Regions from separate parts of the Homo sapiens genome. Here region 2 is linked to region 1. Evidence: promoter capture Hi-C in 16 types of primary human blood cells and fetal thymus (Javierre and others, 2016). All regions are on one chromosome and are shown on one strand. The core of a region is centred on a gene start or on the middle of the fragment in contact, and the rest is flanking DNA. Distances in the headings are between cores, read along the strand shown.

Region 1 (6,675 bases), core at 2,649-5,148:
AGAGGCAAACTTTGTGGGGGCTGATTTTGTTTTCCCAAAAACAGTATCACCAAAATATAGGCAAGGGCTCATTAGGGCTCACTGGCCCCAAAATAAGACTTTTTTTTTTTCCATACCATCCTCATGCAACTGTAGTAAGCTAAAAAGTTTGCCCATGCAGATGCATCTTTGCATCGGCTAAATGGTTTTAGTGGCGTGGCCCGTGCAACCAAGTAAATACTACTTAATAGAAAGGAGCCTGGAACTCAAGAAGATGAGCTGCAGAAATCTCTTAATTAAGAACTGCAAATTATATGTATTTTTAAGAGACAGAGTCTTGCTCTATTGCCCAGGCTGGAGAGCAGTGGTGCCACTTTGGCTCACTGCAACCCCCACCTTCCAGTTTCAAGAGATTCTGGTGCCTCAGCCTCAAGCAGCTGGGACTACAGGTGCACACCAGCTAATTTTTTGCATTTTTAGTAGACATGGAGTTTCACCATGTTGGCCTGGCTGGTCTCAAACTCCCAGCCTCAAGTGATCTGCCCGCCTTGGCCTCCCAAAGTGCTGGGATTATAGGCATGAGACACCGTGGCTGGTGGTTATTTCTTACACCACTATCACCCCTGGTCATTGTCATCTGTGGCTCTGGTTCACTTTGGTGAAACACATACCAAAATCATGATGTAGTAAAAGAAATTTCCTGGCTGGAATCTCTGGGCTGACACCCTGTCACTTTCTAGCACTCTTGGGAAATTAACCTGAGGCCCAGTGTTTTCCATCTGTAAGGCAGTGATACCATCAACCTACACTTGCAGGGAAGTGCCTGTGACTAAATATGCTTTATGTCACAAGACTATTACAGTATCTGGTACTTAGGGATAGACTTATGTTGGCAACTCAGTAACAACTGATAAGAACACAGAAAAGAACTCTATGTTCTAATACTGTTAAACTTCATACTCTTTAACAACATTTAATACTACAATCTGATAAATTCTTTGACAACTTTTACTTGCTTTGCCATGACTAGTGGCTCTGGCTGAATTTCTACTCCTGCTTCTATTCTTAAATCAGTACATGAAAAACACAAGCTACAAATAACAAAGGTTCTCTAGCACTGGATATAAGGTTCTCCTCTAAGCGCTGGGTGTAACAGCTGAAGCTAATCAGAAGGAATATATGCAGAATGAGAGAACTCCAATTAAGAAAGACAAAATGTGTATTTTACTTGCTTAGATTTGGGAGCATAATTGCTCACAAAGATTCATAGATTTTTTTTTATTGTTAAGCTGCAACGTACATGGTTTAATACAACAACAAAAAAATTTAATCAAGTGAAACGTAATAAACTGAACAATAAACACTCAAAACATTTTCCATTGGAAACATGTAAAGACAATATGAGGTTTTGTTACCATCTTACTGCAATTTTCTTATGTGTTACTAGTCTACATACCCCATGTTTTCTGTAATCATGCAGATGTGAATGGAAGTTTGAATGATTAAATAAATGAAAAGTCCGTTTACTGCAGGGAATCATTTCACAAGGCAGCCAAACCGGGTTTAGAGAACAAAACTATTCAAGAAATTCTCCACGTATTTAGGTTCATTTTAGAATCCATGAACCTTAAGCTGTTCCTCCTTTACAATGCCAACCTGTAAAATAAAATCTAATTTAGCAAAATAACTCTGAGAAATATAAAAATTCATTAAGAAAACATGGAAGAGTAATTAAAAAGAATCACTATCAACAGCTTACTGCAACACTGTTGTCTGTGGCATGCACTGCTGATAGCCAACAATTCAACACGTATTTGAATACTTTACATGCCAAGAAATAGCCTGTGTGTGTATATAAAGAAATGATCAGAATACTCTAATGACAAAATAAACCAGATAAAGGTCTTTGCTTTCCAAATAACTACCATGTCTTTATTTCACCTAATTTCCTTCATTCGTATGATTTTTTACTTAGTAGAAAACAAATCATGTTGCCTTTAAATACAATTTTAAAAGCAATCTCAAGGTTACACATAAAGCACCCAATCACTCACCTCCAAGAGAAACTGGCAGATGTTTTTTCTTTGGTCACCTTGAAGCTGAATAACCTCTCCGTATTCAGGATGTTCAATCACAGTACCATTACAGGCAAATTTCTGGAAAAGTGCATAAATATACAACAAAATTTAGTCAACTACTATGAGGTTTTATTTCACCGTATGAACAGAATTAGCCATTTCAGTAAGCTAGATCATATTTAGAGAAACAGATTTTGTCTCCTATAATCCACAATCCTTCCAAATTAATTTGTAAACCAGGAAATGATTTTATGTGTAACATCAAGAACTAAATATTTCACATTTAAATTTATTTAAAAGCAACGCGAATCTTCTTTTAAAATGAGAGACCACACTGGGAGAATAACTAAATATTTACATGTTAATTACAAAAATGAGAACAACTTTCTTGGTCTAGTTATTTTCATCCACGCCGATATAAAGGTGTGAATCATAATCCAGTTCAGAGGTGTGCATCAGTAACTCTAATCCTTTCTTCCTAATCCCTTTACCTTTTTGAAAGCTTTCACAAGTTTCTTTTTGTCATAATCATCTGCAATGCCCTGAACAGTAGTCAGTGTCTTTCTGCCGTTCCGTTGCTGGATTCTTATATGAATGTAATCCTCAGTCCCTGCCGGGAGTAAGTCGTCACCCTTAGTTGCATCAGCAAAGGGGTCTGCGAATGGATAAAAAAAAAAAAAAAATCCAAAGTAGAAAAATATTTTTTAAGAAGTACTTTCCAGAAATACATTATACTACCAATCCAGACAGTCATCAATGAAGGTTCTAGTGCCTTTGCTGTTTTTGCCGGTAGGAATGGAGATGGGGGTGGAGTATTAATAAAACCCCCAAGATACTCTCACAAAAAGAGAAACATTTGAACAGCTATGTCCATTGTAGAAAAACGCTGTTATAGATAAATAATGTTATCGTTCAATATGGTCCTCTAATGAGAAAAAGATTTAGAAAACCTTAATATTGTAGCCGCTATAAAAATGTGCGTCATCTCGATTACATTCTGATGAAAACATAAACATTCGAATACGCCCACCTTAATCATTTAACCGTAACTGTGCCTTGCCAAAAAAAAAGTAGATTACATATATATCAAGAGGCGTAATTTAACAAATTGCTACGCAAGCAGAGAAGACTGAACCACTGGCCAGTGACAGATCAGAGGCTTGCATCCGCATCTTTCCCTAAGTGCCCCCAGGAGCTGCCAGAGAACGGGCGCCGATCCCTGGTTTCCCTGGCCCGGCATACCCTTTGCAAGTAGCAGGGCCGATCTAGGAGTCCACGAAATAGGATCGCCAAGGTTTCAAGGGGCAGAAGCGGAGGCGAGAGCCGGGTCAAGGACGGGGCAGGGGGTGGCGCAGGGCCCGCGGCCGGGGCTCCGAGAGGAGGGCTCGGAGTCCGGCGCTGTCCTCGGGGAAGGGGTCGCCAGGGGCCCCGTCGCCATTTTCTGGGCGCCGAGACAAAGCCCCACTAGGGGTGCGGGAAGGGCAGAAAGGGGGCCCCTAGGGGCGGTGGCCAGGCGGGCAAAAGGCCGAGATGCGCGCCGGGCAAGGGAGGGAGGCGGCGGCGACGGGATCTTACCGAAAGATTGGAGGTTCTGGATAGTGGACATGCGATACTAGTGTGAGGCCGGTGAGGGGATAAAATTCCTGCGGGGCCCGCCCGGATCACCTTGTCAGGAGGCTGTAGTGGCGAGAAAACGGAAATAAATAAGAAAACGCTTCGCCCTGGGGTTGGGATTAGGCTGGAGTGGCGGCGGCGGAAGCCGGGAGGAGGCAGGAAGAGGCGAAGGAGGAGGCGGAGGAAGAGGCGAGGGCGCGAGAGAAGAGGCGGCGCTGCGGCTTCTCGCACAAAATGGCCGATGGAGACTATTTAGCCGCGCCCGCGGCCCCTCCCACGTGACCGTCCCGCGCCGAGCATCCTGGGACTTGTAGTTTTCTGGAGGCAGCAGAGCCCGGAAAGCCTGAGGCCGGGGGCGGCCGAGACCGCAATTCCCGTCACGGAGTGCGTCCTCTAGCGCGGGGCGGAAGACCCGCGAAGTGTTCAAGCGGCCGCAGAGCGGCCCAGAGTTCGCAGGTCTGGGGCTCTCTTCCCAGAGAGCTCGTAGGGGAGGACAGTCAAGGGACTCAAGCGTCTCTCTTGACTCCCCTTCTCTCGCTGTGCAGTGGCGGCGCCGAGGGGTCGACGCTCAGGGCTAATCTCTATGAGTCACCCTCGAGGCCCCGGGTAATGTAAGTAAAATCGGGGTGCAGGAACAAAACAAGTCCCCTTGCTCCGGCTTTCAACTCATTGGCCCCCGCTCAGCAACTACCTGCATTGAAATTCCAACCCCAGTTGCAGGAGCGGTGTTAGTCTCAACCAATACTGGAGATGGGAGCCTCTCTTTCCAGGATTGGACGGACCTCCGATTCCCTAGCACGGTGGATCTCAGACTAAAGCGTGTGTCTCTGGAGGGCTTGAGAAAACACTGATAGACCCCAGAGTTTCTGTTTCAGGAAGTCTAGGGTGTGACCTGAAAATCTGCAATTCTCATAAGCTCCTTGGTGATGCTGATCCTGCCTGCTGGTCTGGGATCAGGCTTGAGAATCACTGCCCAGCTTAATCCTGGGCCTGGCATCGAGTGGGGGCCAGGTGTGTATGAACAGAAGATACCAGAAAATCAGCTTGTCAGCTCATTTTGTGTGCCTCAGAAGGCCCAACAGAGAATTCAGGAAAGATGCCAGGTATAAGCTGAAGGTGAGCTCAGCAAATAGGTTAATTGATGGAGTCATGTACCAGACCGTAATATCTTCCTATCAGGTCACGCACAGAAAAATAAACCCGAGACTTTGGGAATTGGCTCACTCAGGCAGGTGTGTTCAATTGTCAAACTTGGTTGGCTTTCTGGAAGCAAAGAGATAGACTAAAATTTAGGGATTCTTAACTTTTTTGTGTGTGCCATGGCAATCCTGTGAAGCTGCTGAATCCCTTCTCAGAATAATGAGAAGTTAAGTTTTAAGTTCACAAAGTACATAGGATTACAAAGGAAACCAATTATATTGAAATTTAAAAAATACATTAATAACGTGTATTTCTTTATTAATACACTAATAAGATCTAGCAAGATTAGGTCTAATACTATAATTTCAAAAAGCTGATAAATGTAAGAGATATTTTGTGATGTCCGTAACATCAGAAATTTAATATGAAAGTATGTGTAACTTCTGTTGGTGCGAAGTGACAGGTCCTTCTATCACTATGATGTTGCCTTTATTCATAATGGAAAGAAATGGTAAATTTTGCTTAGAGGTTAATGAAAATGCAGATATAATCTTTCCCCATCCAATTTTAGGGATCTCCACCCCTGCAGTTTTATCCATGAGCCAAGGATCTGCAGACCGCAGGTTAAGAATACCTGGATTTGACAATCTTTTGTAATTAACAATGATGATAAGTGCCATTTATTTAGTACTTACTGTTTGCCTGTTACAAAGCTTATATATAACATTATTAATCTTCATAGCTATTTTATAAGGTAAGCATTACTCTATGCACCAGGTGTGGAAATGAAGGCTTTTGTAGGTTAATGCCTGAAAAAAAAATCAAATTCTTAACTCTCAGAAATCTAACCACATTTGTGGTCTTCCAGCTCTGGTTCAAATGGAAAACACTCTTCGTATCCCAAATTGAGGTGTAAAGTTTAGAGCTGGCTCCAAAACAAGGAGCATCAAAATATCTAAATAAGTGTGCTTTAAAGTAATTTTATTAGTTCAATTTTGTGCCCTATGTTAATACTCTAACACTCTAATTTCTAAATAATTTGTAATCTAGATAATGCATCTCTATTTGTTTCCTTTCTTTCTTAGTAGATGTACATGAGTATTTTATATTACTTTATTTCTCAGAAGAAGCCAAAGGTGATCCAGTGAAGAAAAAACTACAAACACAGAGAAATTAAAAGAAAAATTCCAGAAATCTTAGGGTTTCATGGTCATTACCCCTGTCAGGAGAACTCACTTTTCTTAGATTTAGTGTTTGCATCAGAAACCTTCAGGAGTGAGAAAAAAAAAAAAAAAGAAAGAAAAAAGAAACCCCCAGGAGCTCAGAAATCTTTAATCAAAGCCAATATGAATACAGATTAGATACAGTTGTGGTTCTTAAGGCTCTTCTAACTCTCATGATTCATAGTCTTTGTGTTTAGACCTGCAGTGTCCAGTACAGAAACCACTAGCCACATGTGGCCATTGAGTACTTGCAGTATAGCTGATTTAAATTGGGATGTGATGTAAGTAGAAGATATACAGTAGGCTTCCAAAGACTAAATTGTCTTAATTTCACCTATTTCGTTTTACCTTTTTAATGTAGCTACTAAAGACTTAAAATTACATGTGGCTCATGCTCTATTTCTACTAGATAGCACTAGTTTAGAGTGAAAGAATTTGGCCTGTGTGTAAAGTTATCATAAAAAGAATAAACTGAAGCATTTAAAATCTAGCATTTTTAGTTCTAAATGGTACCAGCCTAGGTTAAGGTAATTATTTCTTGTCTTAATTCAGAAAAGCATTTTAGATCACTCACAGAGAACAGTTGTGCTGAGTAAAGGAATTATAGAAGATAATAATTAAAAAGCACCTAAAGCTGAAGG
Region 2 (5,872 bases), core at 1,381-3,880, 1.6 Mb before region 1:
AAAGGAGTATTAACAGACATTTTAGGTTAACCCATTCATTAAATTTCTTTATTATCAGCTGGGCGTGGTGACTCACGGCTGTAATCCCAGTACTTTGGGAGGCTGAGGTGGGAGGATAACTTGAGCCTAGGAGTTTGAGACCAGCCTGGGCAACATAAGGAGACCCTGTCTCTAGAAAAAATAGAGTTTGGTGTGGTGGTGCACGTCTGTGGTCCCAGCTACTCAGGAGGCTGAGACATGACCCTGGGAGGTTGAGGCTGTAGTGGGCTATTATCATGCTATTGCACTCCAGCTTGGGCAACAGAGCAAGACCCTGTCTCAAATTTTTTTTTTTTAAATTATGGAAAATTTCAACATATATAGAAGTAGAGAGGCTAGAGTAATGAGGTAGTATCATTTGCTTCCAGCAATCAACACTGGCTAATCTTGTTTCATCTTGTGTCCTGCTTTCATTCCCCCTCTCCCTTTTTCTCTCCCTCTCTCTTTCTTGCTGGAGTATTTTAAATAAAATGATATCATTTTACTAGTAAATATCTTTTGCTAGCAGAAAAGGATTAGAAAAATGTATAACCATGATTTCATTATCACACCCAATACATTCAGCAGTAGTCTCTGAATATCATCTAATACCCAGTTAGTGTTCAGATTTTCTTGGTGGTTTCATACATGTCATTTTGTAATTTTTCTTTGAGCCAGGATTGCGTTTAGATATTGTGACCCTTAAGTCTCTTAATTCCTGGTCTCTTATTTTTTAGTGTCATTTATTTGTTACAGACAAATTGTCCCTTGTCTTGGCCCAAATTGGAATACCAGAAGCTTTACTGCACCCTTTTGGTGTTATTTAATATAGTCCTTTATCACCTGCCTTTCCTTTCTTGCGCATGGCTGCTTAGATGTGGACCCTTGATTCAGTACTTTTTTTTGGGGGGATGGCTTGGGGAAATAGGAATTTGTCACAGTTGGTGCTGTATTTCTCCTACTGCTTCATAGGAAGTGAGACAATTAAACATTATATGCCTCTATTAGAGGGGTTAAAGTTGATCACTAGACTCAGATGTTGTCAGCCTTATTATAAATATTCCCATCACTCTTTTTTTTTCTTCATACCCTTATCTGTGAGTCAGGAACTCCTCACTCTTTTTTTTTTTTTTTTTTTTTAACAGTTTTAACATCAATCGATTATTGTCTACATGTAGTAATCCTTTAGAGTTGCAAAATGATAATTTTCTTATTCTGTAATTTCCTTTCTATTTGTAGTTGGAAGTTTTCTTACAGAAGATCTTTCCCTGATCAACTATTTGGTTATCCTTAAAATAGAGTTTGTTTTGCAAGGCAGGATAAATGCTTGATTGTTCCTCTTCATAGGTCAGTTTTCAGAATAAAGAGTTGGTACCTGAGAAATCTCCGTGTCTAGTGAGATTGATTTTATATTGTTAAGAACTTACAGGTGTATATATGTATATGTATATCGTCTAGTCCTTTGCAGTCATTAGTCTTTTTGATGCTTACATTGTTTCATCTCCATCCAGTGGGAGCTCTTTCAAGTTTGCTCCTTTCTCCCTTTGACATGAGCCTACTCCTGTCTCTGACAGCTTGCTGGCTTCTCGGCAGTGAGCTTTCATAGGCTTGTTTCGGGAATAGTCAACCCCTAGTTTTGAAACCACTTCTATAAGGAATCTTGTTTACTTTGTTAGAAGATGTAGTTAGAGAACTCAATCTGGGTTCTCTAGGTTTTTTTTTTTTTTTTTTTTTCCTGGTAGAGCTTTTCAGAGGTTAGATCTAGGTACTATTGTTTCTTAAAAAGAGAAAAATTCACAGTTTATTCTGCTTTTCCAATTCAGATTTTTTTATTGAGACAGAGTTTTGCTCTTGTTGCCCAGGCTGGAGTGCGACGGCGCGATCTCGGCTCACCGCAACCTCTGCCTCCCGGGTTCAAGCGATTCTCCTGCCTTAGCCTCTTGAGTAGCTGAGATTACAGGCATGCACCATCATGCCCGACTAATTTTGTATTTTTAGTAGAGATGGGGTTTCACCATGTTGGCCAGGCTGGTCTCAAACTCCTGACCTCAGGTGATCCACCCACCTTGGCCTCCCAAAGTTCTGGGATTATAGCGGTGAGCCACCACGCCTGGCTCCAATTCAGATTTAAAATTCGTTTTTACCTTTTGATTTACAATTTTTATTTTTCTTCTCATAAGCTAAAATTCCTGGCTGGGGCGGTGGCTCATGCCTGTAATACCAGCACTTTGGGAGCTGAGGTGGGTGGATCACTTGAGTTCAGGCGTTCGAGACCAGCTTGGCCAACATGGCAAAACCCCATCTCTACTAAAAATACAAAAATTAGCCGAGCATAGTGATGCACGCCTGTAATCCTGGCTCCTTGGGAGGCTGGGGCATGAGAATTGCTTGAACCCAGGAGGCGGAGGCTGCTGGGATCGGACCACTGCGCTCCAGCCTAGGCAACAGAGCAAGACTCTGTCTCAAAAAAAAACACTCTTGGCCATTAATAACATTAACATAATTATCTTTTTTTTTAGCTTAGAGTTTAGAATAGTTTAAAAATAGTACACGTATTGTTACTAACAACAAAACTACAAAGTGCATTTTAAGTACTTTTTTTCCCTTGGGATATAACCCACTGGATGATATGTACAGTCAAAACGCTGAGTTTTAAAAGCAATTTATATAATTCTTCACTTTGTACTTTTGTCACCAATATGATATATAGTTACATATGTTTTCAATTTTTTTTAGATATTTAGAGATTACTTTGTACTTTCTTTCTGGTTTGAAAATTATAATTCTTTTTTATTGAAGTGTTGGAAATACATACAAAACATAAATGTATTGCTTAATGAATTATTGCCAAGTGTGAAAACCCAATAAACTGTCACTGGGTCAAGAAACAGAACATTAAGTAGAACATTGCCAGCATACCCGGGGATCCTCTTGTGCTCTCTCCTGATCACTGTTCTCTCCCTTTGTGCCAAAGGAAGTTACCGTAACTTCCAATTCTGTCATGATTTTGCCGGCTTTTGAATTTTGTTTAAATTGAGTCATATGATATGTATACTTTGGTATCTGGCTTCTTTTATTTCATATTATGTTTATGGAATTCATCCTTGTTGCCTGTACCTGTAGTTCATTTTTATTACATGAGTATACTACATCACTGGTGATGGGCATTTGGATTGTTTTCTGTATTTGGCTATTAAAAGCCTTGCACACACATTTTGATGCACTTGCGCAAGCTCTCTGTTGGATATGTGTAGGAATGGAATTGGTAGGTTACAGGATATGTGTGTGTTCAACTTTAGGGGGTAATCTAAACTGTTTTCCAGTAAGGTTGTATAAGTTAAAATGCTTTGACTAATGAAAGAATGTTCAGTGCTCTGTATTCTCATGAATACTTGGTGTTGGCATAAAATCATGTTAAATAAGTATTTACCAGTTTCCTCTTTGTTTTTAACATTAATGGTTATTGAGTTTGGTATGGCATCAGAAGATAGGAGTATTTAATTTTTCTTCCTATCTCTATTAATAGGTGGATTATATTAATGGAATTCCTAAAAATAAATCACCTTTGCATCATTATAAGAAACAACTTGGTGCTCTCTATAATTCACTGTTGGAGTCTCTTTCCTCATGTTTTTTTCTAGAATTGTTCCTCTATTTTTTCTTGCCACATTACATTGATTCTTGGAGAGTCCAGGCTGTTTGTCCTGTTGAATATTCCACATTCCAGATTTGTCTGCTTGCTTTTTTTGGTATTGCTAACTTATTCCTCTAGTCCACACATTTCCTATAAACTGTAGGTTAGGTCTGGACGCTTCATTAGATTTAGGTTGAACCTTTTTTTTTTTTTTTTGGTAAGAACATATCATAGGTGATACTGGGTACTTCATATTTGAACTCATCAGGAAGCATGCAGTGTCAGGTTTTAATAGTTGCACCTACTTTGATCATTTGATTAAAGTAGTGCTGCCAGAGAGCTCCATTGTAAAGGTACATCTTTTCCTTTGCAGTGCCACTTTAGCTCTCATGTGATGTATGCAATAAGAGCATAATATTAAAACTTATATAGATTATAACTGCTGTTTTAACATTTTTCTAAAAAAAAACATTCAGGAAATGTTAATCATTGTATTAATTGTCATTAATTGCCATTGCATTTTCTCTTTATTTTCAACAGATTATTACTATTTTTATTTTTGAGATGCAGTCTCATTGTGTTGTTCAGGCTGGACTACAGTGGCACAATCATAGCTCACTACCTTGGGCTTAAGCCATCTTCCCACCTCAGCCTCCTAACTAGCTAGTACTAGAGGTGCATGCCACCATGGCCAGCTATTTTTTTATTTTTTATTTTTTGTAGAGACGTAGTCTCCCTATGTTGCCCAGGCTGGCCTTTTTAATTTTTAAAAAATCATTTTAGCCAAGCTTTATTGAATGCTTGCTGTGTACCAGGTGCCAGGCTGGTCTTAAACTCCTGGGCTCAAGTGATCCATTAACCTCAGCCTCCCAAAGTGTTGGGATTACCAGCGTGAGCTATCACACCTGGCCTCAACAGATTATTAATTCACTAAGTTCATCATGCTGTGTAACATTATTTTCACCATTATTGTTTTTGAAATTTATCTTATTTAATTTTTGTTTAGGCAGGGTCTCGCTCTGTTGCCCAGGTTGGAGTGCAGTAGCACGATCATGGCTCACTGAAAGTTCATACTCCTGGGCTCAACTGATCTCCCACTTCAGCCTCCCCAGTAGCTGGGACTACAGGTACACATCACCATGCCTGACTAATCTTTTAATTTTTACTTTTAGTAGAGATGGTGTCTCATATTATTTCCCAGGCTGGTCTCTAACTTCTGGTGACAAGCAATCCACCTGCCTCAGCCTTCCAAAGTGCTGGGATTACAGGCATGAGCTACTGCACCTGACTGCTAATTAATTAATATGTTTTTAATATATATTTTTTATTTCAATAGCTTTTGGAATGCAAGTGGTTTTTGATTACATGGATGAGTTGTATAATGGTGAAGTCTGAGATTTTAGTGCACTGGTCACCTGAGTAGTGTACACTGTACTCAATATGTAGTCTTTTTAATCCCTCTCCCCTCCTTCACTTGTGAGTCTCCAGTGTCCATTATACCATTCTGTATACCTTTGCATACTCATAGCTTAGCTCCCGCTTATAATTGGGAACATACGATATTTGGATTTCTATTCCTGAGTTACATCACTTAGAATAATGCTGGCCTCTAATTTAATTTGAAAAATTTATTTTACATTCTATGTCCTCATGTTTTTTGGTGGGATAATCATGTTTTATGATTTAGTTCTTTAAAAGAGTGAAATATTGTAAGAATTATTGACTTAAGAATATTGGCACTACGTTCTTTAGCTTTCTACTGAATTGGTTATAGAATTGAATTTTATGTTAAAAGTGGATATATGGTGATTTGAAGCATTATTTAACTTAGTTCTTCCTGAAAATTGTGTGCTTTTGGAAACTCTAAACGTAGTGTATGATGAATCTATTTCAAAGGCTGTGATATTATGTGCTCCACTTTGGGCTCTTGCTCCGTATTAAGATGCACGATTGCACCACTTCCTCTTCTCTCTCGCCTAGCTTGAGTAGTATTGCTTTTCATTACTAGAACAACTACACATAATCAGTCCTGTCATTGTCCTTATTTTCCATAGTCTTCATTTTCAATTTATAACCTTTTTTCAAGAACAAATAGCACTTGTTGCACTTTCTGAGATATATGAATTATATATACATATATATGGACTTATTTTTCCCTATAGTTTTTCCATGTAGCATTTATTATGATTTTGTAAATATTCTAATTATAAAAATAATATG

What was found. The method cuts DNA at HindIII sites, captures the fragments that hold promoters and counts their contacts. A CHiCAGO score of 5 or more calls a contact.
Region 2: a fragment that was not itself captured here is called in contact with the fragment with the promoter of EIF1B in region 1 in 13 of 17 cell types (total CD4 T cells, activated CD4 T cells, naive CD8 T cells and 10 more); the score reaches 22.2 in total CD4 T cells.

Annotation. Positions count from the first base shown.
Region 1 is chr3:40,306,930-40,313,604 of GRCh38, reverse strand. It overlaps EIF1B (eukaryotic translation initiation factor 1B), which reads right to left and starts at 3,898. Exons shown (of 4, transcript NM_005875.3): 1 at 3,633-3,898; 2 at 2,549-2,712; 3 at 2,034-2,135; 4 at 1,181-1,635. The coding sequence starts at 3,663. The coding sequence ends at 1,591. EIF1B-AS1 (EIF1B antisense RNA 1) reads left to right here and starts at 3,907. Exons shown (of 3, transcript NR_033965.1): 1 at 3,907-4,282. It overlaps LOC124906228 (a long non-coding RNA gene), which reads left to right and starts at 4,794. Exons shown (of 2, transcript XR_007095876.1): 1 at 4,794-6,675. RefSeq lists silencers at 673-967, 3,488-3,537 and an enhancer at 3,808-4,167. The HindIII fragment of the contact is 2,965 bases long and covers 2,562-5,526 here.
Region 2 is chr3:41,873,962-41,879,833 of GRCh38, reverse strand. All of the region lies in intron 17 of ULK4 (unc-51 like kinase 4), which reads left to right. Among named protein-coding and RNA genes, the nearest start is that of ULK4, 85 kb to the left of the region's middle. The HindIII fragment of the contact is 3,624 bases long and covers 819-4,442 here.